7 separate regions of the Homo sapiens genome follow, and all the other regions are linked to region 3. The links are contacts of gene promoters, found by promoter capture Hi-C in blood cells and fetal thymus (Javierre and others, 2016). All regions are on one chromosome and are shown on one strand. The core of a region is centred on a gene start or on the middle of the fragment in contact, and the rest is flanking DNA. Distances in the headings are between cores, read along the strand shown. Region 1 holds the start of TRI-AAT9-1 (tRNA-Ile (anticodon AAT) 9-1). Region 2 has its middle 2.2 kb from the start of TRV-AAC5-1. Region 3 holds the start of H2BC13 (H2B clustered histone 13). Region 4 has its middle 9.3 kb from the start of TRV-CAC6-1. Region 5 has its middle 16 kb from the start of TRS-GCT1-1. Region 6 holds the start of TRQ-CTG5-1 (tRNA-Gln (anticodon CTG) 5-1). Region 7 holds the start of TRR-ACG2-2 (tRNA-Arg (anticodon ACG) 2-2).

The links. Contacts are between HindIII fragments. The CHiCAGO score rates a contact against its expected background, and 5 or more counts as called.
Region 1: a fragment that was not itself captured here is called in contact with the fragment with the promoter of H2BC13 in region 3 in 1 of 17 cell types (endothelial precursors); the score reaches 5.2 in endothelial precursors.
Region 2: a contact is called between a fragment that was not itself captured here and the fragment with the promoter of H2BC13 in region 3, in 2 of 17 cell types (endothelial precursors and erythroblasts). The highest score is 7.0, in endothelial precursors.
Region 4: a fragment that was not itself captured here is called in contact with the fragment with the promoter of H2BC13 in region 3 in 15 of 17 cell types (endothelial precursors, activated CD4 T cells, erythroblasts and 12 more); the score reaches 13.4 in endothelial precursors.
Region 5: a fragment that was not itself captured here is called in contact with the fragment with the promoter of H2BC13 in region 3 in 5 of 17 cell types (activated CD4 T cells, total CD8 T cells, non-activated CD4 T cells and 2 more); the score reaches 7.0 in activated CD4 T cells.
Region 6: a fragment that was not itself captured here is called in contact with the fragment with the promoter of H2BC13 in region 3 in 1 of 17 cell types (endothelial precursors); the score reaches 5.0 in endothelial precursors.
Region 7: a fragment that was not itself captured here is called in contact with the fragment with the promoter of H2BC13 in region 3 in 4 of 17 cell types (megakaryocytes, erythroblasts, endothelial precursors and 1 more); the score reaches 6.7 in megakaryocytes.

Annotation. Positions count from the first base shown.
Region 1 is chr6:27,273,085-27,276,146 of GRCh38, reverse strand. TRI-AAT9-1 (tRNA-Ile (anticodon AAT) 9-1) reads right to left here and starts at 2,187; the gene lies at 2,114-2,187. It overlaps TRI-AAT3-1 (tRNA-Ile (anticodon AAT) 3-1), which reads left to right and starts at 863; the gene lies at 863-936. The HindIII fragment of the contact is 428 bases long and covers 1,312-1,739 here.
Region 2 is chr6:27,231,694-27,234,996 of GRCh38, reverse strand. No RefSeq gene overlaps it. Among named protein-coding and RNA genes, the nearest start is that of TRV-AAC5-1, 2.2 kb to the left of the region's middle. The HindIII fragment of the contact is 2,580 bases long and covers 192-2,771 here.
Region 3 is chr6:27,806,474-27,809,467 of GRCh38, reverse strand. H2BC13 (H2B clustered histone 13) reads left to right here and starts at 1,539. Exons shown (of 1, transcript NM_003519.4): 1 at 1,539-1,989. The coding sequence starts at 1,562. The coding sequence ends at 1,942. H2AC13 (H2A clustered histone 13) reads right to left here and starts at 1,295. Exons shown (of 1, transcript NM_003509.3): 1 at 801-1,295. The coding sequence starts at 1,258. The coding sequence ends at 866. It also overlaps the pseudogene H4C10P. RefSeq lists enhancers at 435-1,033, 952-1,151, 1,492-1,721, 1,972-2,071, 1,634-2,233 and 1 more. The HindIII fragment of the contact is 5,899 bases long and covers 973-2,994 here.
Region 4 is chr6:27,195,297-27,198,429 of GRCh38, reverse strand. No RefSeq gene overlaps it. Among named protein-coding and RNA genes, the nearest start is that of TRV-CAC6-1, 9.3 kb to the left of the region's middle. The HindIII fragment of the contact is 877 bases long and covers 1,253-2,129 here.
Region 5 is chr6:27,111,966-27,114,828 of GRCh38, reverse strand. No RefSeq gene overlaps it. Among named protein-coding and RNA genes, the nearest start is that of TRS-GCT1-1, 16 kb to the right of the region's middle. The HindIII fragment of the contact is 1,876 bases long and covers 477-2,352 here.
Region 6 is chr6:27,293,356-27,296,659 of GRCh38, reverse strand. It overlaps TRQ-CTG5-1 (tRNA-Gln (anticodon CTG) 5-1), which reads right to left and starts at 1,227; the gene lies at 1,156-1,227. It also overlaps the pseudogene TRS-ACT1-1. The HindIII fragment of the contact is 2,197 bases long and covers 176-2,372 here.
Region 7 is chr6:27,212,582-27,215,508 of GRCh38, reverse strand. TRR-ACG2-2 (tRNA-Arg (anticodon ACG) 2-2) reads left to right here and starts at 1,593; the gene lies at 1,593-1,665. It overlaps TRR-ACG2-3 (tRNA-Arg (anticodon ACG) 2-3), which reads right to left and starts at 336; the gene lies at 264-336. RefSeq lists an enhancer at 1-366. The HindIII fragment of the contact is 1,616 bases long and covers 736-2,351 here.

The DNA of each region.
Region 1 (3,062 bases), core at 276-2,775, 530 kb after region 3:
GAACACTTTTCTGTTGTGATATGAAAGAATTGCAAAAATATATTCTGAGTTAAAAAAAAAGCAAAGGATTTAAAAAGTAGATAAAATGCCACTATTTGTGAAGAGAAAAAAGAAAACATTTGTTTAACTTTGGCTATGCGTTAAAAATCTCTGGAACGATAAAGAAGATATTAAAAACAATTGTAATATTTTTAGGAGACAATGGCTGGGTAGAAAGATCGGTTTAACCGTCCCTGAAGGGTGAGTAGAGCCACATTTCTAGAATTCTCCAATACCAAGGTCTTCAAAGTGGGCTTTGATTTGAGGTCACTCTGGAAATCTGAGGCAACAGGTAGGGAAACTTCCAAATGGAGGCTCCGGGCATGAGAAACCTGCCTGGGACGATCTCGACGGTGGGACCATCGAAAACAGACTCGTCGGGAATATCCTTCAGGTGCCAATTTCTGGGTTGTGTTAGTGAACGGCTCTTACAAAACAAGGACTCGCTAATATTTCACCGAGTCTGATTCATTGTCTGCACGTACTGATTACCAGACATTTAGAAAGCAACAAATGTTTCCATGGATTCCTGGACTATTCGCCGCAGTTTGAAATTTTTAAGCGTCCTCTTTCAACTCTAGGAACACGGCTTAAAAAATAAAATAATAAAAATAAATAAATAAAAAATGTTATTTCCTTGTTTTGTTTTTGTTTTAAGAGAAAGTTTCTCATTCTTTTTATTAAGAATCTAAAGCAACTAAGAAATTGTTTCTTCTTGTGAGACAAACAAGAATTATATTGCTGAATTTAATGCTTTCCCAAAAAAGGATGAGTGTCGAGATTAAGGGCGGGGGGTGGGGGGGGAAGAGCTGCACCCAGCGTCGGCTGGTTAGCTCAGTTGGTTAGAGCGTGGTGCTAATAACGCCAAGGTCGCGGGTTCGATCCCCGTACTGGCCACGTATTTTCCCCAGTAGTTTTTTATGGCAGTTCTGCAGAAACTCGTCGGTTTTCAGCCAGCGAAGGGCTACGGATAATTAACGATGCAAATCGTCGGTTTTCAGCCAGTGAAGAGCTGAGGGTAATAAACAATGCTCTCAGATGGTCCAAATTCGCTGCCATCATTTCTTAATCCATCTGAATTCTAACTCCATTCCCGAATCACCCAAATTTCTACATCTTCTCAGGTAAAGTTCTTATTCTTTTCCACTAGGTGTTAGGGCTGGGGACAGAAAGCTGTTCAGGGCAGAGGACCCAAGATTGGGAGCTCTGCCTAATGAAAGAAAAAAAAAATTAGAAGATTACTGGCTTTTTAAAAATTATTTAAATGAAGCTTACTTGATTTCAAATTGTCCTCCCAAATTGCTCCTGAAACCAACCTTCTTTCTCAAATTGGCAAGAGATACAAGATAGAGAGAACAAATTCTTAGGAGATTGTTATTATATGTCTCTGAAGACTTTTTTAGATTTAACTGACAGAAAAGATTGCCCTGAGAGGAAGCTATCGCTTTGAACATGGAACACAGACTTGGTGTGTTTTGTTTTGTTTTGGTTTGGTTTCTTGTTTTGTTTTTAGGAAAGGATGAGCTAGAAAGGAGTCGAATCTAGCCTCTTGTGATTAATAAACATGCACCTTGCATACTGCTTCCAACTTGAAAGGGCAATTCAATATTTCTTCTCTTTATCTTGTATCTCTTGTCAATTTGAGAAACAAGGTTGGTTTCAATAGAAATTTGGAAGGACAATTTGAAATCAAGTAAGCTTTATTTAAATAATTTTTAAGACGCCAATAATCTTCTAATTTCTCATTTTTTGTTTCCTTCGGCAGGACTCCCGATCTTGGGCCCTCTGCCCTGAACAGCTTTCTGTCCCCAGCCCTTACACCTGGAAGAAAAGAATAAGAACTTTACCTGAGGAGATGTAGAAATTTGGGTGATTCGGGGATGGAGTTAGGTTTCAGATAGATTAAGAAATGATGGCAGGGAATTTGTACCATCTGAGAGCACTGTTAATCACCCTCAGCTCTTCGCTGGCTAAAAACCGACGAGTTGCATTGTTAATTATCCTTAGCTCTTTGGTGGCTGAAAACCGACGAGTTTCTCTAGAACTACCGAGAAAAAGTACTGAGGAAAATATGTGGCCGATATGGGGATCGAACCCACGACCTTGGCGTTATTAGCACCACGCTCTAACCAACTGAACTAACCAGCCAACATTTTGGGTCTCTTCCCCCACACCACTCCCCCTCCCCATTAATCTAGACCCTCATCCTTTTTTGTGGTGAAAGCATTAAATTCAGCAATATAATTCCTGTTTGTCTCACAAGGAGAAACAATTTCTTAGTTACTTTAGACAATTCAATATCATATTACCTCTGATCATTCTGGGTAGTCTTTTCTGTCCTGTATAGGTTCCATACCTGCACATACTCATGAATATTAAGCTGAATACTTCAGAAGTTCTTTCTGGAGTTATCTCTTATTACAGCTCTCTTCTTTCTGGTATGCTATCATATTCACTCTAGCTGCCCCAGTCTCCCAGTCTATCAACTCCTCATCAACTCTGGGAGTCCACCAGGCTCTGCTTGGGTTCTGCCTTTCTGCATTGGGGCCTGGAAATTCAAGGCCTTAGTTAGGGGCTAATCCTACTGTTCACCTCCCCCTCTCTCCAATCATTCATTTTTTCCCCTGTGATTAGGGGTTACTATTCTTCCTTACCAAATACTGTATGTCTTGAAAAGTGTCATTTCATCTTTTTTGTTAGGTTTTGGTTCTTTACAGCAGGAATGTAAATCTGATCCCTGTTATTCCAACTTGACTGGAATCATCTCCCAGTTATTTGGAGGATGAAGAGCTATTTGGAGGAGCTATTTTCTGCTATGGGTTGCAGGCTTTTGGCACCAGAGAGGACCCTGTTATTATATAAGTGCAGCGGCCTGTCTTCCAGGGCTGTCCGGAGATCTTGGAGCCTCAGGGTTCTTGGGGCAAGCAGATGTTGAGCTGTGTCTCCAGGCTCCGACTGGGACAACATGTCTGAAGAGTTCAGGCTACAAGCCCCAGGGTGGCTAAATTGCCTGCTCTTCTTTT
Region 2 (3,303 bases), core at 232-2,731, 570 kb after region 3:
AATCAAGACAGAACAACCGTATTCATTAGGATCAGTTACCAATGAGCAAATATCTATATATCATACATGGTAATTGGTAATAAATACATATGTATATTTACACATATGTATATATATGTATATATGCTTCTCACACTATGTATTTTTTGCTGTTTTATATACATATATATATATGAACATGAGGATAAGCTTCCTCATCCATAATTATCTCATCCTTAGCATAGTGAAAAGCATCTAGTAGGCTAGATTTTATAAATCCTAAAGAAGCGATAGAGTTCTGCTAACTATGGTAAAAATTTTCGTCAAAAGATAGCATATTTGATCATCAACAGCTATTTGATAGGAATTAAAACATAAATTCCATGAGGAAAAGGATATTTTGTCTGTCGTGTCCACTGCTTTATTCCCAGCTACTTAATAGTCTCTGGCTTAGGACTTTTAGTAGAGAATTAATTAACATTTCTTTAGTGAATGAATGAATGAGAACAAGTAACAATCAAGAGTTCAGTTTTGGATATCTAAACTTACCTTTTTTCAGTGTATTGTAATTGATGGGTCTTTCAAACTTGTGCCAATTGAGATGCATATAAAATTGTTTAGCACTTGAAATACTCTCCTTACTTTATCTTGTAGTGAGACTATCCTTGGATTTTACTGTAGCCATTTTTTTTCTAGCATTTGTACCTGTCCTCAGCTATGACATTTTGTGTTAGTGTAGTGATTATCACTGTGTGTTATATGCAGAAGGTCATGGTTTTGCTCTGCAGGAGATCCAAAATAAACCAAGGACTGATCCCTTTATCCTGCTTTTTAAATTTCATAATAGAGAGACCAATGAATTATTTTACAATTGTTATCATCTGGTTGCCTGCTCCAGCAGACTACAGGGTTCTGGGGTCTGGCTAACATTTCCTCATTTTTTTCTGGCTTCCATAAAGGGCCCTCCACAAAGCCCAAGTGCTTACAATTGCCAAACATTCAGAATACCAAATTAACAGCTGATTTCTGAGACTAGCATGGAAGCTGTGAAAAATGTGGAAAGCTGCCAGCTTCAGCCAACAAAGAGTAGGCCAGGGATTCAGATGGCCTGAGAAGGTCTTGAGTCCAGAACCCCAGGAATAGAAAATGCCCAGGATATAAAGGCATTTGCGTCTTTCTAGGGCAGCTCATGTGGATCTGGCTTTTAGCTCTATATTTTGAAAAGTTGGAGCGGTAAGGAAGGCGGAATAGTAGTAACTGAGCCAGCATTTGTCAGAACTTAGGGAAAGTGGTCAGAAAAATAGCAAGCAGCTTGCAAATGAGGTTCTGTCCTGGATGTGATATTTGTTCTTTCAGCTTAACCTCAATAGACTGAAGTGGTGAAATGAGAGACAAGAAAATTTGACGTAAAATTTTATTTTCTAGACTCTTTGGTATTTGATCCCAATAAAATGATGGTTCCCTATCACCACAAGTGGATATCACCACACACTATTTTACCAATCCTTAGGATTCCATGGTGAGAAAAAATCATAGTAAGTCACAGATAGACCTAATTATAATGATGGCAAATTAAGCACAGCTTTTGCTTTCTCTTTATTCCAAACTACACTTATACAAAGCATTAAGGGTGTTTAAAGACATAAATACACAGGGACAAAAAGATGAGAAAATGATGAGCAGTAGCAAGTAGCAAGATTTTGAATGCCAGAGAGCAGAATGATTAGTGCTAACAGAAGGGAAAATCTTATTGTGTTAAGTATCTTTTTTTTTTTTTTTTTTTTTTTTTTTTTTGAGACGGAGTCTCGCTCTGTCGCCCAGGCTGGACTGCGGACTGCAGTGGCGCAATCTCGGCTCACTGCAAGCTCCGCTTCCCGGGTTCAACGCCATTCTCCTGCCTCAGCCTCCCCAGTAGCTGGGACTACAGGCGCCCGCCACCGCGCCCGGCTAATTTTTTGTATTTTTAGTAGAGACGGGGTTTCACCTTGTTAGCCAGGCTGGTCTCGATCTCCTGACCTCATGATCCACCCGCCTCGGCCTCCCAAAGTGCTGGGATTACAGGCGTGAGCCACCGCGCCCGGCCAAGTATCTTTTTAAAAAAAAATTTCTTTTTAAGATTGGTACATGCGGCCAGGCGCTATGGCTCAGGCCTGTAATCCCAGCACTTTGGGAGGCCAAGGCAGGCAGATCACAAGGTCAGGAGCTCGAGACCAGCCTGGCCAACATGGTGAAACTCCATCTCTACTAAAAATGCAAAAAAAATTAGCCGGGCGTGGTGGCGTGTGCCTGTAATCCCAGCTACTCGGGAGACTGAGGCAGGGGAATTCCTTGAACCAGGGAGGTGGAGGTTGCAGTGAGCCAAGATCATGGCATTGCATTCCAGCCTGGGTGAAAGAGTGAGACTCCATCTCAAGAAAAAAAAAAAAAAAAAAAAAGATTGGTACATTTACATATACTCTAGTACATCTCATAGTTGCATAATATTTAATATTATGTGTTTACCACACTTCACGTATCTACTGTTCAATGTTGGCTTCAAGGCTGAATCTGATTCTGGAAGAGGAAAAATAGTGAGGCAATTAACATCCACATATGATACAATCTATATCTTTGTGACATGAGGGGGAATATACACCTAGGAGCCGAATACCTAGGTCATTGAGTGTGTCAATCTTAACTTGAGTAAAAAGTATTAGACTGCTTTCCAAAATGGCTACATTAATATAAACTTCCACCAGCAGGATATGAGGGCTTCCATATTCCCATTTCTGCAATAATGGACACATCAAGCTTTCTAATTCTTCCAATGTAATGTAGGTTGAGTAATAACTTATTTTATCTTGCATTTTATATTGATAATATTAAATATTTAAAATGTTAATCTTTTCAGGTTCTTCTTATCATGGGTTTGATGAGGACCCTGTCCCTATTCTTTATATATTTTCTTTTCTTTCTTTTTTTCTTTTTGAGACAGAGTCCTGCTCTGTCACCGAGACTGGAGTGCAGTGGCACAATCTCGGCTCACTGCAACCTCTACCTCCTGGGTTCAAGCGATTCTGCTGCCTCAGCCTCCCGAGCAGCTGAGACTACAGGCGCCTGCCACCACGCCCTGCTAATTTTTGTATTTTTAGTGGAAACGGGGTTTCACCGTATTGGCCAGGCTGGTCTCGAACTCCTGACCTGGTGATCCGACAGCTTCGGTCTCCCGAAGTGCTAGGATTACAGGCTTGAGACACCGCGCCCAGCTTCTTTACACATTTTCTATTGAGCTTGCTGTTTGATCTTGCTGATTTTAATGGCTTCTTACTATATCATGTAGATTAA
Region 3 (2,994 bases), core at 290-2,789:
GCCAAAAAATGTCAAAGAAACAACTTTATGTGAACTTTTCACTTTTAGATTAAAGTAATTCCATTGCAGCTTATTTTTCCAATACTCTAGAAATGTAATTCATTTTCTTTTAAGAATCTATTCCATTCGTACATCCAGATCTGATTCAGATTAAAAACATCAAGTCAGATATTTTAAAAGTGGAATTTACCATGCTGAAACAAATTAAGTCATCTCTGTACTAAGAAATCAATTTGTGTGGCTGGGGGTGGGAAAGCTCGGGAAATTTTAATTTCAATGAATTTTCAGAAAATGCTTCAAAGAGAACTACCTGGCACCATAAGTAACTGTTCTAATTAGTCTAATAATTATTCTCAACTCAATCATTAATGTTCAAATGCAATTAATTATACAGATTCGAGAGATATTTCTCAGAAATGAAGAATCCAAGTCGTTGATCTAGATTTGGATTGAACGTCGAATGCCCGGTTTGTTATTTACCAAGACCCAGAAAACATCTGGCCCCAAAGCAGACATGTTTGCTTCAACAGACTAAAAGTAAAACCCGACGGTGAACCATACAGAATTCAACATACTTGGATAATGCCAGCTTAGGAAAAACTAAATTTTCTTCCACTAAGCTTAAGATGAAGGCGTGTTTAATACTTTTAATGTTATCCAGGCTTTTTATAAAGCTAACGAGATTGTCACTACCTAACCAAGACACCGAAGACTGATCTACGTAACCTTTGGAGTGGTTTAGAAGTAGGCAAAGACGAGAAATTACATTAAACATAGTGCTCAGTTCTTCCACAAAATTGTAGGTGGCTCTGAAAAGAGCCTTTGGTTCCTTTGGGATTGAGTTGCTGCAAACTAATCCAGGCTTCTACTTGCCCTTCGCCTTGTGGTGGCTCTCGGTCTTCTTGGGCAGTAGCACGGCCTGGATGTTGGGCAGGACGCCACCCTGTGCGATGGTGACTTTGCCCAGAAGCTTGTTGAGCTCCTCATCGTTGCGGATGGCCAGCTGGAGGTGACGCGGGATGATGCGAGTCTTCTTGTTGTCGCGGGCCGCGTTGCCAGCCAGCTCCAGGATCTCGGCGGTCAGGTACTCCAGCACCGCCGCCAGGTACACCGGCGCTCCAGCACCGACCCGCTCCGCATAGTTGCCTTTGCGGAGCAGGCGATGCACTCGGCCTACGGGAAACTGAAGCCCGGCCCGAGAAGAGCGGGTCTTGGCCTTGGCGCGAGCTTTGCCTCCCTGCTTGCCACGCCCAGACATGGCAAAAGGCCTATTATCTATACGGTCAAGAAAGACTGAAGTGAAACTAGAAAAACGTACATTTTATAGCCTCTACTGGGCGCGAAAAGGAAGCTGTGCGATTGGCTTACGTTTTATTTTTATTTAGACCAATAGGACTCGATTATGCAGGATACCTATTTTGATTGGGCAAAACTGGCATCTGTCGTCATCCACGGATAATTACCAATCAGCAGAGACCTTCCCACTACCTCGGCCGCATAAACTATTATATAAAAAGAGGAGACCGACTTCTTGTTTTGGTTTTGCCACTATTGTTTCATTATGCCCGAGCTGGCCAAGTCTGCTCCCGCCCCGAAGAAGGGCTCCAAGAAGGCGGTGACCAAGGCCCAGAAGAAGGATGGCAAGAAGCGCAAGCGCAGCCGCAAGGAGAGCTACTCCGTGTACGTGTACAAGGTGCTGAAGCAGGTCCACCCCGACACCGGCATCTCTTCTAAGGCCATGGGAATCATGAACTCCTTCGTCAACGACATCTTCGAGCGCATCGCAAGCGAGGCTTCCCGCCTGGCGCACTACAACAAGCGCTCGACCATCACCTCCAGGGAGATCCAGACCGCCGTGCGCCTGCTGCTTCCGGGGGAGCTGGCCAAGCACGCGGTGTCGGAGGGCACCAAGGCCGTCACCAAGTACACCAGCTCCAAGTAAATTCTCAAGCTCTTGTCCAACCCAAAGGCTCTTTTCAGAGCCACTCACTATTATCTAAAGAAGAGCTGGTTCGCTCTTCCTATCACTGGGGGGCGAGGGGTCATAAATCATTTTGATCTATCCACTAAATTAATCTAGCTCTTTGAAAGCCATTTAAGGTGAAATGTACATGAGGTACGTGCATATAGCTACCAACACCATAGAGGGTCCGACCTTTGCGCTTGAGGGCATAAACTAAGTCCTTAGCAGGGACTGCTTTGCGCTTTGCTCGTTCCGTGTAAGTCAGTCAAGCGCATCCGGGATCACGTTATCCGGAAATTCCTTGAGCATCCACGGGTTTCTAAAAAGATGAGACCAGAATGCGTTTGACACCGCCAGGCCAGGCTCCAGGTGGTGGGTCTGGTGATGTCTGGATGTTGCACAGCAACTTGCGGTGGCGCCCCCTTTACCCAATCCTTTCCCTCACTTGCGCAACCAGACATGATTTTAAGGCACGACAAAAGACCCGAGGTAAAAACCAAAAACAGCACTAGGAAAACAAGGCTGGCGTTTTTAATCTTTCCGACTAAACTGGAAACTAGAGGGGTGGGCGCGGTGGCTCATGCCTGTAATCCCAGCACTTTGGGAGGTGGAGGCGGGCGGATCCCTTGAGCCCAGGAGTTCGCAACCAGCCTGGGCAACATAGCAAAACCCCGTCTCTGCAAAAAGCACAAAAATTAGCCAGGAGTGGTGGCGCGCCCCTGTTGTCCCAGCTACTTAGGGGGCTGATGTAGGAGGATGGCTTGAGCCTGGTAGGCGGAGTTTACAGTGAGCTGAGATCGCACCACTGCACTCCAGCCTGGGTGATAAAGCCAGGCCTTGTCTCAAAAAAAAAAGTGGGAGATCAGTAAAAGTTAACACCTTGCCTTCTCCTAATTGTCAATGCCTGCTAGCAAAAGATGCCAGAGTAGATTTTTAAAAGTTTTTCTTGTTTTCACCCAAACCCAACTGTTTTTCGTATACTATTTACCATCCAATTTACTAACATTTATTAAGCATCTACTATTCACCAT
Region 4 (3,133 bases), core at 442-2,941, 610 kb after region 3:
CATTACTTTTCTTTTCTTTTTTCTTTTTTTTTTCCGAGACAGAGTCTCGCTCTGTCATCCAGGCTGGAGTGCAGTGGTGTGATCTTGGTTCACTGCAACCTCCACCTCCCAGGTTCAAGCAATTCTGTTACCTCAGCCTCCTGAGTAGCTGGGATTACAGGTGCATGCCACCACGCCCATTTAATTTTTTGAATTTTATTAGAGATGGGATTTCACCATGCTAGCCAGGATGGTCCTGATCTCCTGACCTCGTGATCTGCCCACCTCGGCCTCCCAAAGTGTTGGGATTACAGGCATAAGCCACTGCACCTGTCTTTTTTTTTTTTTTTTTTTTTTTTTTGACGGAGTGTCAATCTGTTGTCCAGGCTGGAGTGAAGTGGTGTGATCTCTGCTCACTGCAACCTCCACCTGCCTTCTGGGTTTGAGCGATTCTCCCACCTCAGCCTCTCCAGTAGCTGGAACTACAGGCGTGGCACATCACACCTGGCTAATTTTTGTATTTTTAGAAGAGAAGGGGTTTCACCATGTTGGTCAGGTTGGTCTTGAACTCCTGACCTGAAGTGATCTGTCCGTGGTGGCCTCCCAAAGTGCTGAGATTACAGTTGTGAGCCACAGCGCCCGGCCAAGAAGATCTTTCATAAGGTAAAATAAAGATACTCCCTAGGTGGAGAAGACCATCTGGATACTTAAGCAATTATTAAGAAGTCATGAGTGCTCTGGATTTTGAGGTCTGGAAGAGTGGAGGAGAGACCACGTGTGGTTTGGGGGCCATTATGACCACAGTAAAGAATAGACTGGATCAGCCGGGCGCGGTAGCTCACGCCTGTAATCCTACCACTGTGGGAGGCTGAGGCGGGCAGATTGCCTGAGTTCAGGAGTTCGAGAACAGCCTGGACAACACGGTGAAATGCCATCTCTACTAAAATACAAAGTATTAGGTAGGTGTGGCAGCATGCGCCTGTAGTCCCAGCTACTCCAGAGGCCAAGGCAGGAGAATTGCTTGAACCTGGGAGGCGGAGGTTGCAGTTAGCTGAGATCGTGCCACTGCACTCCACCCTGGGCGACAGAGCGAGACTCTCTCTCCAAAAAAAAAAAAAAAGACTAGACTGGATCATGTCACGTTCTCAGTAAACATCTGTGTAATCAATGGACACTATTAAAGGTAACTTTCTGAAATGTAAACAAATGCTTATGTGACATCCTGTCACTCTTCATGTGACCAGCAGATTCATCTAGAAGTCTAAGTAAAGCTTAGGAATGCACTTGTAGGTAGTTAGCCGTTTCACTTCTTGATGTTTTTGTGTCATCATGTTGACATTATTTGTGACTTTGCATAACTTAAATATAAGAACAATAATGGCTATCTCAATATCCATTGGATCAATGAGGTGTGATTTAAAGTTTACCTAAAACAACATGCAAAGCACCTGGCATGAAGTGGACCCTCAAACGGTTAGTTTTCTAAGTGAGAGTGGCTAGGCTGTTGCTATGTATCTTAAAGGAAATAGTTTCAAGACATGACAAAAGGCATTTTGGCACAGAAATCAGGAAATGTATTTAAAAATACACCCCACTGAATTCCATTTCTGGTTAAGTTGTAGAAAATTGCAAGAGTCTGTTTCTCTCTATTTAATAACTAAAGCAAGAGCATAAGCTACAAAATAGTAGATTTTCTGAACCCACCAGGGAATTGATACAAAGGAATCTAATCAAATTCCACCTAGAAAGAGGTCTTCATATGAGAAAAGAGGTTTCTAGCTGCCCTTGTTCCTGGCAGATGGGCAGACAAGCAGAGGAAGAGAAACCCTTGAATACTAAATGAGGGAAAAAGCCATCAAAACTCCAAAAGATTTTTAAGATTTGCCTGTGGGCCTACTTGACCCAAGCACAGAATTCCAAGTAGCCAAAAAACCACTGCCAGTTGTCTCTGCTAGAGGAGAGCATCCCAAAAGAAGGTGAATGGGCAGGCTGGAAAGTGGAGAGGAATATCCACTGAGGCATCCTCAGGTGCAAAGTCTTTTGAAGTTGGTGAGCACAGCCACAAAACTAAGAGAAATCAATCTAGCGCACTTTGTATTTCTGCTGCCAAGTACCAGGACTGGAGAGCTGAGAGAAGCCCCTCCAAAGCTTTCTAAGTGGAGAGAGATCTTTGTTGGGGACCAGCCTCAACACCACCCATAGGGTAGTTAAAGTCTTTGTGGCGACGAAGGAATGAGAAGAGACAGGTTTAAAGTGTATAAAGAGTGGGGGCCAGGGGGCCAATTGCAAAATGGAGGCTGCAAAAGGCACCAAGCTCCAGTCTCCACACTATTTATTGAGTACAATCACTTACATCTAAGAAGCAGACGTTTAGGGCGAAACGGTGAAAGGGAGGCAGTGTGTTATAGGCATAATCTATAGCAATAGCGGTTTAAATGAATCTCCTTTGTGCCCAAACATCGTATCTATAACTTATCGGAGTGTAGCTAGTGGGAGCGGGCTTAACTAGGAGCCTGCACGTCTGTCTACATTCCAATGCTTCAAAGGAGTGTCTTTCTTCTTGAACACAGTGTTTATAGATAAGAGAGCAGGTTGCACTCAGAGCATGGGAACATAATGGCGATAAGAAGGCTTTCCTCTTCAGAGGCCTCTTGTGGCTTTCCACAACTTATTGTCTCATATTTTTATGGCCAGCTTATGCAGGCACCCCACAAGCCTTTTTCCCAATATGCCCCACTTTTTTTAAAAACCACCATTGTTATTAAGGCTTGTTCGTGGTGTCTGGTCTCTCTCTAGAGGTGTCTTCTGTATTTGTAGACTAAAAGCAAACAGTATAAACAGATACACATTAAAGCAAAATTTGCAATAGTTGATCCTCTAATGGTCTTAATCCATTTAAGAGGGTTTATGTCTGAAAGTCCATCAGTAGCTTCAGTGAGAATGTCAGTCCCAGGCAGGAGAGTTAAATGAGCCTGAGATGCTTTAAAAACCTGGTCTTTTAATTTGGCCTTATCTAATGTGGGCAGAAAGCCACCCAGGTGCTGAGGCAAGAGACTGAAGGCACAACCTCTTCCAGTATAATAAAGAAAATAATTATGATAAGAAAAAGTTATTTTAGAAATAGAATACAGAGGTGATTATAATGGATATTATT
Region 5 (2,863 bases), core at 165-2,664, 690 kb after region 3:
ATGCTGCTACTCTGGGCTGCTCTGCCTGTGCGTTAGCTTGTGCTGTGTGGAGCGCCCACTTTGCTGCATGCTGCTACTTGGCTGCTCTGCCTGTGGGTTAGCTTGTGCTCTGTGGAGCACCCACTTTTCTGTATACTACTACTACAGGCTGTGCTGCCTGTGGGTTAGCACACAGGTCGCCCTTTGTTTATGGAGCAGTTTGCTGTACACTATTGGTCTAGGAAGTGTTTTTAAATTAACTCTGAAGCCAAAAGCCCTCCAGGGTTAAGTCCCAATTTTGGGGTTCACCTGTGTCAGCCTGGTGACCCTGAAGGAAGGAACCATCAAAATGAAGAGACCATGAAGGGAGCATCAAGATGAGCGGGTTGACCATCAAGATAAAGTTTGGAGTTGTGATACTGTAATGCTATATACTAGCCAAAGGCTCTTTTCAGAGCCATGTTTTCTTGGTGACTAACTGGTTGTACACTGAAGCTTTGGAAACCTTTGCCTGGACCCAAATTAATGGCCAATTGGCACCATGTGGTTTCTGTGATTTCCCTGTCATATTGACCTTTCTGGGTAAACCAGGAAATGAAAGTGGGGCCTCCAGCTAGTCCCATGTTCAGATTATGTCCCCATTGCCCCGTTTTTGACCATCGTCTATTAAATCTCTAATGACTGGCTACTTGATATTACCATTCAGTTCCTAAATGCATGGTTGTATGTCAGAGCCATGTTCCTTCTAGGATTGGGTTAGAGTCCCACTCTAGGGGGAATTTATTGGGTTATTGTCAGTCCCACTCTACGTGGCGTTAGAATTGAGAGTCCTGCCCTAGGGGCTTTGTTTTTTGGTCACCTTTCTAAGATTGGGGTTTAAATTTCCACTAAGGGTTCTTAATTTGGTCAGCGTTTTTTTACTTCCATACTTAAAGTGCCTTCTTTGTAACATTCCATTAGCTAGTGATGGTAGTTGCCAGCCCACTGCCCACTCATCTTTCACTTTTGTGGCACCTACTTCTTGATACCCATGTTCTTTTGGCAGGAGTCAGTGGTAATTTCCCTACTGCTCTTGAAGAAAAGGGAGGTGGAAATTTGAAAGGAAAAGTAACTGGACTCTCTGGACTTGGAAGAATTTCTGGGTTTAGTAGGTATCTCTGGTAGACATAACAACAGTGAGCGTCCTGAAACACTTCCTGCTAGGGTGCCTTTTAGGCAACTAAAGCAAATTCAAATTTGATGTCTTAAAAACTCATCTTCTATTATAACAGTGTTTAGTACAAATTAATTTCCCAAGAAATTTGGCCTAAAAATGGTTCACTCTCCCTGGAGCCTCCTTGGTGCCTTAATATGAGGAAGGGGGTCCTGCCAGTTCTCCACTACAGGATTCCATCCCAAGTTCATCAGGCACCCCTCTGCTTTAACCAACTAGCTCCAGCCTATATGCCATACTGCCTGAGGAAATAAGTCCAACCAGTCTAATCAGGAGTGATAAAGTCCTATCAGCCCTTAAAATCAAACTTACATCTATTGTGAGAGGTTGAGACGTTGCTAATGGCGGGAACAGTACTTGTGCCTTTTTCCATGTCTGATTTAGCTTCATGCAAGGGAAACATTGGCTGGTATCAGAGGATCCAGGGAAGTTTATAGTTTGATGTAACTTGGCATGACTTGCAAATAGTGTCCACCTGCTGTGCTGTAGAGGAGAAACAAGGGATTTTTGAATACTGCCTGGGCATATGCTGATGGAATGGCTGCTTGTAACCAGGATCATGCCATTTATTGTATGTGGGAGTGTACTTCCAGATTTGGACCCCCATGGGATTACCAGAGGGGTTCCTGAGATCTCAAATGTAGAAATCATAGGTAACTTGTTTAATAGAAGATATGAAAGTGTGCTTAATCCAGTTAATTATGACAAGGTTAGAGAAGTAACTGTAGGGGAGGATAAAAATCCTATTCTAGTCAGGGCTGTTTGGTTGAGGCACTCAGGAAATATTGCAGGACAGACTCCCCAGAAAGGCAAACTCTTTTATCACTCAGTCTGTCCTTGATGTTAGGAGGAAGCTATAACAGGCAGAAAGGGGAAACGCAAACTCCTATAAGCCAATTTTTAAATATGGCCTTTCCAGTTTACAACAATAGGCACAGGTCAAAACAGGCAGAGATAACCAAAAGAAATAATATCCAAAATGCAATTGTTAGTGACTACTTTAAGCACCCTCTCCCACCTCAGGGTTAGCCAGCCTGAGGAGATTTGAGATCAGCATCTCAGATGCCCAGATGAGAGCCCCGAACTTGCTGGCCCCAGGGCCAATATCACTGTGCCTTCTGTAAGCAAGAGGGCCATTGAAAAAGGGACTGTTCCAAGCTTCAAAGGGAGCCTAGGCTACCCAAACCCATAATGGCCAAGAAAACAAGACTGACCGGGCCCAAGGTCCCCCACAGCTCCCACTGGACACCTTACCATCTCCATGGAAGAGGCTTAGGTAACTTTTGAAGTGGCAAATAAAAATATTTAGTTAAAATGTGTTCTTATTGAGATAATAATTTTGTCAAATTCAGAAACTATATAAAGGTTGATTCAAATTATGGATTAGAAAAGGCTATGAAATAAGGAATCTATAAGTAGGAGAGAGATGTGAAGAAAGTTATGGATGTGGAGATGTATTTTTGGTAAGGAAGGTCATAAAGAATGATTGTATAAAGGAAGGTTATAAAGAAAAGAGCATAACTGTATATGAAAAAGGATCTTCAATTTTAAAAAATCAATATGAGAGGACTATTGCAGTATGAAAAGAAAATCTTATATGGTAAACTCTTGTTCTAGAGTCAAATTACTAGGTATTTAAGGAAGAGGTAGTATAGGACAAGTCAGAAAGTC
Region 6 (3,304 bases), core at 25-2,524, 510 kb after region 3:
TCACGGTAAGATATTATCTAAAAGGCGAGAATGATTTGCAGGGGAAGATGGAAGTAGGGAGCATTCACATCCCATAGGGAGCTAGTGCGCGGTAGGGGAGACACATATGGGGAAATGTTTCTTTGTAGCCTCTAGGATCTCGTGGTCTCCGGCCCAGCAACCCTGTCGCTAAGCTTCTCGGCTGCACCGGGCGCTGGCTTCTCTGACATTCCTTAGCGCAAGAGCTTTTTCCTGTTCACATTCCCTGCCTTCTCTCCTCGCTCACAGCTTTCTTCTTTCGTCCCCGCCTCTCTCCAAAACCAAACCGCCCCAGCAATTTCCGGGTGACTGAACTTCTACAATCTGTCTAAGAGGGTCCGAGCTCTGAAACCCCTTCTTCAGGAGCTTGTCCATGCCCAGACGGAAATGCCAAGAAAGCCGAGTTGCTGAGCGCCCAGCAATGAGCTCAGGGAACCCTCACTAGGAAACGCTGCGGGAGGTTGGTGGCTGGGGAGATTGGCGGGGAGAGGGCGTAGAGTAAACTCTGTTATCCTGGGAAAGGGAGTCTTTTCAGCTCATTTCCCCCTCTTCTCTGTCCAAGTAAAACTTGCTTGTGCAAACTCGAAACAGCATCTATCTCTATTGACTATTGACTATCGCCAGTTGTATCTTTCCCGTCACCTGTTCTATCTGCCCAGCCCTCACAAGTTGAGCTTCTATCCCCTTGTGGTCTTGTCTGAGGACAGTTTTCTCTCGGCTTCGGCGACTGTCACCTCTCCCAGACCCATTTAGTGGGTAAGTCCTTTCCTCAGTTTCCATCCCAGCTTTTCTCTGTTCGTGACTATCACCAAATTTCCTTTCTCTCTTCTCACTAGCCTCCTATCTATTGTCTCCTCACTTGTTTGCAGATCTTTTCTGGAGACTTTGATTTGCAGTTCCAGCAGGACTCGAGCGACTGCCTCGTGCATTTCCTTTTGAGGCTTCTCTCTTTTTTCTCCAAAGAACAAATTGTGCGCAGCAAAAAGAAAGTTATTATTTGGTTGGCAGCTAAAGATACTCCGCTCAAGAGATGTGACGTGGAAATACCAGGAATAAAATTTGGTCGAGTGATTTGTATGAGCAACAGTATAGATTGTGGAGAGACGATGGGGATTTGACTGCAGAGGACTAAATCCAAGGTTCCACCGAGATTTGAACTCGGATTACCGGATTCAGAGTCCAGAGTGCTAACCATTACACCATGGAACCTGAAGCTGAACTAGCATTTCCTAAAGTCATAGGTGACCTATTTCTCCACTTTAGGTTCCTTCCCTCCGCCCCATAGTTTGGGTGATGGGTGCATTCTGCTTTTCCTCTTGGAGGATTAAGTCAAGAAGACGCTTACCTGCCACATGCCTACATTCAACACCTTTTACACCACAGTCTTAATGGAAAACGTTGACTTCCAACTGTCAGGAGTCCTCTAATCCTAAACCACTCCTTTCAAGTGCTTTAGGAGCTTGGCGCCCCGGGCCTCGGCCTCTATTTCATCAATGGTAGACAAGTGAGATTGTTAAACAAGACTGTGTGCCAGGTGCCAGGCACACAGTATGCCAGGTTACCGTGTGCCAGTTTTTGTGACAAGTGTTTTCTATTGTTACCTTACCTGTGAGGCTCACAACCACGCTGTGAGATGGGACCCATAATCTCTATTTTACAGGTGAGAAATTTGAGTCAGATACCTGAGATGCTTTACTCCTTTTCGTTATAGATCTAATTATTTTCTCAAAAATCGTTTTTACCAGGGTAACATGTAGCGTTTTTAAGGACACGTTATGGAAAGATTTTACCGAAGTCACAGGGGAGCCACTTTGCTGTTTACAGAAAGCTGAAATAAATGCACTTGAACTACTGGGTTAGAGGAAGATCCCAGCAACCCTAGGATAGCAACTCAGGGAAAGAAGGGGAAGGGTAGACAAAGGTCCCTCTGGAGTTTCCCAGGACAGTGCATAGCTCCCCTGGTCCTTCCACTGCCCTTCACCAATGAGAAATATGTGCAGGGTAAACTTCCAAACGGACACAAAGAAAACTCCCTGCTTCTCCCTCGCATATCCCTTTGTGACACACACAGGAGCCCATGTGAAAACACAAACACAGACACACACACACACACACACACACACACAGAATCGGTTTCTGTGAACAAAACAAAACAAAAAGTCTGTGTTCCTTGTTTAAAGTGATAGCTTCCTCACAGGACAATGTCGTCTGTCAGTTAAATTCGAAAGGGTTTTCAGAGACACATATCCACAACCTTCTAAGGATTTATTCTCTTTATCTTGTGTCTCTACAATTTGAGAAAGAAGGTAGGTTTCAGGACTAATTTGGAAGGAAAATCTGAAATCAAATAAGCTTTATTTTTTTAAAAAAAATGCCAGTTATTTTTCCACTCCTTGAACTCTTCCCCGCCCCCCCCCCCTTTCATTAAGCAGGCTCCCAGTCTTGGAGGTCTCTGCTCTGAACAGCTTTCTGTCCCCAACCCTTATTCCTGGAGGAAACAGAAAGAACATTTAAAAAAAGAAGAAGAAGAAGAAGAAGATTATTACCTGGGGAGATGTAGCATTTCAGATGATTCGGAAACGAACTTAGGTTCTAGGTTCGTTAAGAAATGGGGACGGTTAATTTGAATCATCTTAGAGCATGAAAACCAAATTTCTCGAGGGGGGAAAAAGCCAAAGGCCCGTACGGGGATCGAAACCTCGACCCTGGCATTAGTAGCAGCACGCTCTAACCAACTGAGCTAACCGGCCGACCGCAAATCTGTGCTTTTGTTATTCATCTCACCCGCATCCTCGCCCCTTCTCCGTGAAAGTATTAAATTCTTCAACGTAATTCCTGTTTGTCTTACAGGGAGGAACAATTTCTTAGTTGCTTTAGAGTCTTAATAGAAATAACGAGAAATTTCCTCTTAACGCAAAAACAAAGCAAAATGGCTGTATTCGTAGACTTGAAAGAGGACGCTTAAACATTTCAAACTGTGGCTAATGGCCCAGCAATTTATGGAAATATTTGCTGCCTTCTGAATGTCTAGTCAATACATGCAGACAATGAATCAGATTCGGTGAAATATTAATGAGTCTTTGCTTCGTAAAAGCCGCTCACTAATACAACATACAAATTGGTACTTGAAGGATATTCCCAACGAGTCTGATTCTCGATGGTCCCATGATCGAGATCGTCCCAGGTTTCTTATGTCTAGATCCTCAATTTGGGAGTCTTCCTATGTGTTCCTTCAGATTCCTAAAGTGACCTCAAATCAAAGGTCGCTTCGAAGACCTTGGTATTG
Region 7 (2,927 bases), core at 294-2,793, 590 kb after region 3:
CAGAGCGAGACTCCGTCTCAAAAAAAAAAAGAAAAAAAGCAATTTCCGAAGAGACTTAAGGTCTCAAATTTCAGTTTGATACTTAACTTTAAACCAGACTTAAAGGTCACGATTGTGATGTGCAGCAGTACGGTGCAAGGTGAAGAGCCAGATCAGATGAATTTTCTTTCAAAGGACTTTAAGAACCGGTTTCTGTCATCAGTTTGAAAACACACAGGATATTTTTCTTAAAAAAAAAAAAAAAAAAAGCCAAGATTAACACCCGAGCCAGCCAGGAGTCGAACCTAGAATCTTCTGATCCGTAGTCAGACGCGTTATCCATTGCGCCACTGGCCCTCGGTTGCGCTTTTGACTACTGGCCACTCAGTCTGCGTCTGTCGATTATCTATCATTGATGTACCCGCTTTTTGTTTTTGTTTTTGTTTTTTAATGAGACAGAGTCCTGCTCTCTCGCCCAGTCTAGAGTGCACTGGCGCGATCTCGGCTCACTGCAACCTCCGCCTCTCGGGTTCAAGCGATTCTCCTGCCCCAGCCTCTTGAGTATCTGGGATTACAGGCGCGCGCCACCACTCCCGGCTGATTTTTGTATTTTTAGTAGAGACGGGGTTTCACCATGTCGGCCAGGCTGGTCTCCAGCTCCTGACATCAGGTGATCCGCCCGCCTCGGCCTCCCAAAGTGCTGGGATTACAAGCGTGAGCCACCGCCCCCTTGTGTCTATTGCACTTGTGAAAGCTTCATTAATTTATGCAGTCGGTGCATCTGCTCATTCATTAAATAATTTCATTTTTTAAACATACTTGTGTTGGATACTGATGCTTTGTGTGGAACAGTGATCAGAGATCCAAATACTTTAAAAATTTTGAGATAATGAAAAAGAAAATGGAATACTTTCTTGAGGTACACATCATATGTTTTCCATTTCATTCTCCAAAGAACCATAACAAAAGAAACATAACCAAAGAATCCTTACAGAGAAAATAATTTCATACTTTATGCAACAGAAAAGACATTAAGAAACATCTCCCAGGCCGGGCGCCGTGGCTTACGCCTGTAATCCCAGCACTTTGGGAGGCAGGTTGATCACTTGAGGTCAGGAGTTCGACACCAGCCTGGCCAACATGGTGAAACCCTGTCTCTATTAAAAACACAAAAAATTAGCCTGGCGTGGTGGCGCGCGCCTGTAATCCCAGCTCATCGAGAGGCTGAGGCAGGAGAATCGCTTGAGCCGGGGAGGCGGAGGTTGCAGTCAGCCGAGATCGCGCCACTCCACTCCAGCCTTGGTGACAGAAGGAGACTCCGTCTCATAAAGAAAAAAAAACGAAAAGAAAAGAAAAAAAGAAAGAAGTGGGCACATCAAGTAAACAAATGTCAACGACAGTAACTCTATTATGTACATGATGTTCCAAAGCAGAAAATTTCTTTATAAATATAAATATCTGAAGGGAGTGAAACTTATTTAAATTGACCACAAAGACAATCGCGCTTTGCTAGAATCCACAGTCTTGTTCAATGTACGCCTGGTTGTATTGCAAACCAACTATTTTCTTAGTGATCCTAATGAAGAATAGATAATCGAGAGACCCACAACGACGGGCCAGTGGCGCAATGGATAACGCGTCTGACTACGGATCAGAAGATTCTAGGTTCGACTCCTGGCTGGCTCGGAGGCTTATTTTCTTCCCCCCCCCACACACGAATTCTCGCTCTTGTCCCCCAGGCTGGAGGGCAATGGCGCGATTTCGGCTCACTGCAACCTCCGCTTCCCGAGTTCAAGCAATTCTCTTGCCTCAGCCTCCCGAGTAGCTAGTAATACAGGCGCCTGCCACCACGCTCGGATAATTTTTGTATTTTAAGTAGAGACGGGGTTTCACCATGTCGGCCAGGCTGGTCTCGAACTCCTGACCTAAGGTGATCAGAGCGCCTCGGCCTCCCAAAGTGCTTGGATTACAGACATGAGCCACCGCGCCCGGCCTTTTTTTTTTTTTTTTTTTTAATTTTTAAAGAAAAATATCATCCTGTGTGTTTTCCGTTTTTTCTTTTTTTTTGAAATGGAGTTTCGCTCTTGATGACCAGGCTGGAGTTCAATGGGGCAATCTCGGCTCACCGCAACCTTTGTCTCCCGGGGTCAAGCGATTCTCCTGACTCAGCCTCCCGAGTAGCTGGGATTACAGGCATGCGCCACCCACGCCTGTCTAATTTTGTATTTTTAGTAGAGACAGAGTTTCTCCATGTTGGTCAGGCTGGATTCGAACTCCCGATCTCAGGTGATCCGCCCACCTCAGCCTCCCAAAGTGCTGGGATTAGAAGCGTGAGCCACCGCCCCCTTGTGTCTATTGCACTTGTGAAAGCTTCATTAATTTATGCAGTCGGTTCATCTGTTCATTCATTAAATAATTTCATTTTTTAATATACTTATGTTGGATACTGATGCTTTGTGTGGAACAGTAGAGATCAAAATACTTTAAAATTTTGAGATAATGAAAAAGAAAATGGAATAAAATACATTCTTGGGGTATACATCATATGTTTTCCATCTCATTCTCCAAAGAATCATAACAAAACAACCATAACCACAAAACCATTACAGAGGAAGTAATTTCCTCTGTAATTATAAGACTCTATGCAACAGAAAAGATTTTAAGAAACATGTCTCAGGCTGGGTGCGATGGCTAACGCCTGTAATCCCAGCACTCCAGGAGGCCGAGGTGGGTGGATCACCTGAGGTCAGGAGTTCGACACCAGCCTGGCCAACATGGTGAAGCCCCGTCTCTACCAAAAACACACACAAAAATTAGCCGGGCGTGGTGGCACATGCCTGTAATCCAGCTCGGGAGGCTGACGCGGGAGAATCGCTTGACCCCGGGAGGCAGAGGTTGCAGTGAGCCTAGATCGCGCCATTGCACTCCAGCCTGGGCAACAAGAATGA